2 separate regions of the Homo sapiens genome follow, and region 1 is linked to region 2. Evidence: promoter capture Hi-C in 16 types of primary human blood cells and fetal thymus (Javierre and others, 2016). All regions are on one chromosome and are shown on one strand. Each heading gives the region's core, a stretch centred on a gene start or on the middle of the fragment in contact. The rest is flanking DNA. Distances are from core to core; before and after follow the strand shown.

Region 1 (3,064 bases), core at 553-3,052, 230 kb after region 2:
GGGTTTGTCATAAATAGCTCTTATTACCTAGTTTATTGAGAGTTTTTAGCATGAAGCAGGGTTGAATTTTGTCGAAGGCCTTTTCTCCATCTATTGAGATAATCATGTGATTTTTGTTGTTGGTCCTGTTTATGTGATAGATTACGTTTATTGATTTGTGTATGTTGAACCAGTCTTGCATCCCAGGGATGAAGCTAACTTGATCTTGGTGGATAAGCTTTTTGATGTGCTGCTGGATTCGGTTTGCCAGTATTTTATTGAGGATTTTTGCCTTGATGCTCATCAGGGATATTGGTCTAAAATTCTCTTTTTTGTTGTGTCTCTGCCAGGCTTTGGTATCAGGATGATGCTGGCCTCTGTCTTCTGCATCAATCACGCTGGGAGCTGCAGATGGGAGCTGTTCATATTCAGCCATCTTGGAATGGACTCCCAGTGAGGGAATAGTTTCTAGCAGCCAAAAGATTACATCCTGCTGAAGGTTCAGAAAATTGTTAGCATTTTGTAACAAAAAATGTTTAAATTAAGATATGTATATTGTTTCCTTAGACAGATACTATTGCTTACCTAATATAAAATAGTGTAAACATAATTTTTACATACAGTTGAAATTTAAAAATTTATGTGATTCATTTTATTGTGGTATTTGCTTTATGTTGGTGGTCTGGAATGTGACTTTTAATAGCTATAAAATATGCCTGTGTTTTATATCTTGTTTATCTCTTGTCAGAATTTTTGACTAAATGTTATTTCGTCTGATTCTAGTACAGCTATCACACCTTTTCTTTGGTTACTATTTTCTTAAAATACTTATTGTTGTCCTTCATGTTCACACTATTTATGTCCTCCTCTAAAGGAAGTTTCTGATTCAGAACATATAGTTGCATCCTGGATTTTTTAAAACCCATTCTGCAAATTGTCCTTTTGATGTGGAAATTTAAGCCATTTACATTTAATGTACACTTATGAAACACATAGCAAAGCACATTAAGATATCATTTTACACAAGTGAGAATGACTATTCTTAAAATGTCAAAAAACAACAGATATTGGTGTGGATTCATCAGGGATGTTAATCATGGATCATGCAAACTGGAATACAGTGGTATGACCTTGGCTCACTGTAGCCTCTGCCTCCCAGGTTGAACTTATCTCCTGCCTCAGCCTCTTGAGTAGCTGGAATTATAGGCATTTGCCACCACACGTGGCTAATTTTTGTATTTTTGGTAGAGACGAGGTTTCGTCATATTCGCCAGGCTGGTCTTGAACACTGGATCTCAAGTGATCCACCTACCTCAGCCTCCCAAAGTGCTGGGATTACGGGTGTGAGCCAACGTGTCTGGCCCAATCATTACATTCAAATTTGCCCTCCAAAGAGAGACACAAGTAAAAATTAAGGCATGTGAGGATTATTCACCAATTTATTGTAATTAGATTCCAGTTTTATGAATAACATTTAACAGGATCACAAATTATGTAAAATAGTTACCAGTTTTTTGGAACATTACCTTTGATAGTTTCTTATAAAACTATGTGAAAGATACAAATACTATAAGGCACTGTTTCCATATTACAAATGATGTCCAAAGACCAGACATTGTTAATTAATACTCCAATAAACATCATGTCATAATTTCTGCATTTTCTTTTTCCTTTGAACCCTTGTCAGGATTACAACATCATCAGGACTGCATTTTCATCAGGAATGAATATTCCTTCTACAATGCAAAGAAAAAAAACCCAAAATATTTGCTGATGGAAAGGTAAAAGGAGAAATTTTCTTTGGTTTTAATGTTTAACTTTTTTATTGTCACCTGTTAAAAAATGCTTACTAGTCATTCCTTTAGCATCATGTGAGAGAAAGATGTACAATGATTGATCATTTATATGACATAAAATAAAGATGAAACATCATCACGGCATGAACAAAAACGAGACTTGTTGCTGGAGTTGTTTTATAGTCCAACATATGATAATTAATCATTCTATAAATCTATTGGAGGAATTTATGAGATAGACAGATGATAGATGATAGATAGATAGATGATAGATGATAGATAGATAGATAATAGATAGCCAGATAGATAGATAGATAGATAGATTCCAGATGGAAAATTTTACTTTAGTAAGAAAATAATAATTTTATTCTGACTATATTAAAATGTACTTAAGAATTCTCTTTGATAAAAAACAAGTGCACTGGATTCAATTTTCTTCATAGCCTGTGTAATACACCATCACTTGCCTCTTCCTACATGACATTGGTCAGCCCCAGACAGTGGGCAGTGTAGCATTGCCTGCCCATTGTTTATACAACCTGTGAATATAAATGCTGGATGTTGAAGAAGGAAACCGTGTCTGCTTAGCGAAAGGAATGACATTCAATGGATCCCAAATATCAGTGTGTGGAGCTAAATGATGGTCATTTCATGCCTGTATTAGGATTTGGCACCTGTGTACCTCCAGAGGTAACATAATCATATTTTCAGTGTTGGGCATTTAAAAGAGCAAAGCTAGAATAAGTAGATGACTTGGGTTTTAGCTTTGTGTTCCTGTGTTACTCTGCGTGACTCACCTGGTCTGTTTTAATAGGCCAGAGCTATTCCATGTTCAAAGAGAAAAGGTAGTCAATCTTTGTTCTGCATTGGGGTCTGGTCATATGGTCGTGTACTGCTTACTTTTATTTTGTGCACTGTTTTTTTCTTCTGTTTATGGGTGTTCCCAGCTTTGCAGAATATTTAAAACTCAAGAGTGAAGAACGCTGCCTGGCATTTCCTTTTGTAGGTGATTGACTGCAGTGGAATGGTTTCTCCGTTTCTTTCTATAATTGAAGAAATTGTTTGTTCTTCCAAGTATACATGATCGAACAAAATCTTTGTGGTAACAGTGTCTGGAGACGGGGTGTATGAAAACTCTTAGGGAGAGTATTGCTGAGCTGCTGTGTGGCCTTGAGCATGACAGAGTAATAATACTGGTCTTGGACTTAATACAAGTTCCCATGTACAACTTTCACCTCTAGGAAAATTAAAAGGAAAAATAACTTTAAGAAAAAACTAGAACCTCGAAG
Region 2 (3,261 bases), core at 512-3,011:
GACGCCCGGTGCTGAGCTTAGTTTTAGATCGTTTAAAATGTAAGGGTTCTTTGCAACCCTGGATGGTTTCACCATCAAAGTGTGTGAGTGGCTGGGGGCTGGAAGGTAGATTCAGATTTCTTTCCAGGACTTTTCTTTTTAGGATCTGTTTAGATTTGTTTAGGGTTTATAGGATAAAAGAAAAGGAACTCTCCCCAAAGAAGAAAAGATACTCTGTACTTCCCACATAAAGTCTAATTTTGCAAGTTTCTCCTTTTACATTCCTTGGACTCTTCTGCCATATTCTTGGTGAAACAGCACAAAAGTTTAAGATTTCTCTGCAGTCTGCCACGAAAATAACTGGGCACCATCTAGTTATTAATACATTTGAGGGGCAAAGCTCTACACCTGTATTTTTCTCTGGGTGCCTGAAACTCAACCATTCCTTTGGGCTATGGTGACAGTAGCACTTGTCGAGGATGCTGTAAAGAGACACAGTTACTTCTGGGAGCTGTGGCAGAGCCAAGCACTGAAACGTGAGGGACCTGGGTCAGCCTCCAATTCCCAGCACCTCACAGGGAGAGGACAGGACATGAAGCAGCAAAGGCAGGAGGCAAACAGTACTGATCACACATCTCTGCCAAGTGCAGAGCTATTCCTGTGGGCTCCGTTTGTCTGCAAACACTGATAAGAAGTTAAACTGAAACTAGACCACTTAAAACGTTTTAAAAATCTCACATTTGTTATTTTTGGTAGGTGGCTATGCTTGGGAAAGAAATTGCGAACAGGAATTTTCAGAAAACATAAACATCAAACATCCATCTCCCCTTCACAGGTAGGAGTTAGCCATTGTAGGTATCTGCACACACCCCCGCAATGTTCCTAGTGTGGCAAAGGGCTCTGGGCTTTGGTGGCAGAGGACCTGGCTGGGGAAACTCCCTTGCCTCTGACTTTTCTTGGGTGAATCCCTTAACCTGCATTTCACTTGCCGCGTCCTAGGAAGGAGACGTTACCTGCTTCACAGGTGTGCCCGAGAGTGACGGGAGATGGCACAGGTGAAGGTTTGTGGCACAGGTAAACAGTAAGTGCAGGTGTCCTCGCTGCTTTGCAGGCGGCGTGGAGTCATGTCCTGTGGCTCCCATTAGCCCCGGCATCCCTACCCCATCCCCATTTGTAAACTGTCTCCGAGGACTGACTTTCCTGTGCACAGCTGTGCTCTGTTCAGAGAAAACAGATTTGTGTGAACACCTTCTGCCTCTGATCTAACACCTTTGGAAAGAGGGTCTCTCTATACCAACGTGGGAATGTGATTGTGCCTCCCTGAGAAACTTCCCCTGGTCCCTTTGGGGCTGATTTCTGCTGATTGGGTGGGGGGCGTTCAGCATCGCTCCCTTGGGCTTCCACCCAGGGGCGCTAGCAGCTCTCATCTCTCACACCTGTCTAGTGCATGGCACCTCCTGCTTAAATTAGGGCAGATACATTTACCCTTCATAAGTCAGTCCCAGCCACAAGCTTACCCGAGAGTGGACTTCCCTCCGCAGCGAAACGCTCAGGGAGGCCGGCGCAGCTTCAGGGCCAGGAGGGCGGCCCCGTGCACGTCCCCATGAACTTGTGGCTGCTCCGGGGTCTCGGCTCCTGCTTCTCCGGTATTGTTCCTAAGTGGGCTGTGATATTCCCTCTCTATGGAAACGGTCCCCTCCCCTGTGTGTATATAAAAGTGACAGATCACAGGGTGGATCGTAATTCCAGACGTGGTGTCTACGCTGGGATGAGATTTCATTTAAAATACAACCAGAACCAGCCGTCCACGTCATGCAGACGACAGGTGCTCCAACCTCGACCCCTCCCACCTCTGCTTCCCACCCCGCCCTTCTACCCCCCAACTCCTTTTGCATCCTAGCAACTTGCTTCATTGATAAAAGCAAAGAACAAAAAAGAAAAAGAAGAAATAAAAACTCAAAACAAAACAAAACAAAAATCCTGGTAAAGTGAGAAGCAGTGTCTTTGAAGAATTTTATTGCTGATCTTAGTTCTAACTAATTTCAGTTTCCCCCACATTCCCCTTGCCCTAACTCTCCTTCTGTAAATGTAGAGCCTGGACCTGCTTTGAAAGCAGAGAAGGGGTTTAAAATCCACCTGTTGCCGTGTTGTTTTGTGGGTTCTGACCGTGCAGCGTCATCTGGCCGCACACGTAGCCCCTTGTGCTTGTCACACACTCGGTGCCTACTCCCCACATAAAGTCTAATTATGCAAGTTTCTCCTTTCACATTCCTTGGGCTCTTCTGCCGTACCCTCAGTGAAACAACACGAAAGTTTAAGATTTCTCTGCAGCCTGCCGCGAAAATGACTGAGCACCATCTATTTGTTAATACGTTTGAGGGGAAAGCTCTACACCTGCATTTTTCTCTGGATACCTGAAACTCAACCATTCCTTTGGGCTATGACAGCAGGTCATCATACACCAGAGGTCTGGAGGTTTTAGTGGGAAATGGCTTGGATTTTACTCGTTTATGCATCCTATATTTATTGAGGACTTACTGTGTACCAGGTATTGCCAAGACACCCACGAGTTCAGAGATAAGTAAGTTGTGGCCCCTAACCATACAGGGCCTCATGGTTTAGAAAGGTAGGGAAGGCTGGGTGCGGTGGCTTATGCCAGTAATCCCAGCACTGTGGGAGGCCGAGGCGGGCAGATCACGAGGTCAGGAGTTCAAGACTAGCCTGGCCAACATGGTGAAACCCCGGCTCTACTAAGAATACAAAAAAAATTAGCCGGGCATGGTGGCGAGTGCCTGTAATTCCAACTACTCAGGAGGCCAAGGCAAGAGAATCACTTGAACCTGGGAGGTGGGGGTTGCAGTGAGCTGAGATGGCGCCATTGCACTCCAGCCTGGGCAACAGAGTGAGACTCCATCTCAAAAGAAAGAAAGAAAGAAAGGTAGGTAAAAAATGCTACAGAAGAGAGCAGTCCTGTCTACTCAAGACAGGAGAGGAGAGCAGGAGGGGTTTCAGACAGAAAGGATGGATCAGCATGGACTGAGCCAGGGCTGAGAGGAACGGGAGAGAAGGAGGACGATGGGAGGGAGGTGTTGGTGGGTGCAGAGGCTGCTCTGCACTAAGGTGCTCCAAAGGCCTGCGGAGTTGGGAGTTTATTCCATATGTAATGGGGAGATGTGGGAGACTACGGTCTGTTGACCCCTTATTCACAGATGAGGAAGCTGAGGCTGTAAAAAGTGACCTGCTGGGACCCCACAGGCCCAGGGTGACAGAGTCAGGTGAGAA

The links. The method cuts DNA at HindIII sites, captures the fragments that hold promoters and counts their contacts. A CHiCAGO score of 5 or more calls a contact.
Region 1: a contact is called between a fragment that was not itself captured here and the fragment with the promoter of UCN3 in region 2, in 2 of 17 cell types (M0 macrophages and endothelial precursors). The highest score is 5.2, in M0 macrophages.

What each region holds. Positions count from the first base shown.
Region 1 is chr10:5,134,544-5,137,607 of GRCh38, reverse strand. It overlaps a transcript of AKR1C8 not described here. Among named protein-coding and RNA genes, the nearest start is that of AKR1C3, 42 kb to the right of the region's middle. The HindIII fragment of the contact is 3,166 bases long and covers 220-3,064 here.
Region 2 is chr10:5,363,466-5,366,726 of GRCh38, reverse strand. It overlaps UCN3 (urocortin 3), which reads right to left and starts at 1,761. Exons shown (of 2, transcript NM_053049.4): 1 at 1,497-1,761. The HindIII fragment of the contact is 8,098 bases long and covers 1,494-3,261 here.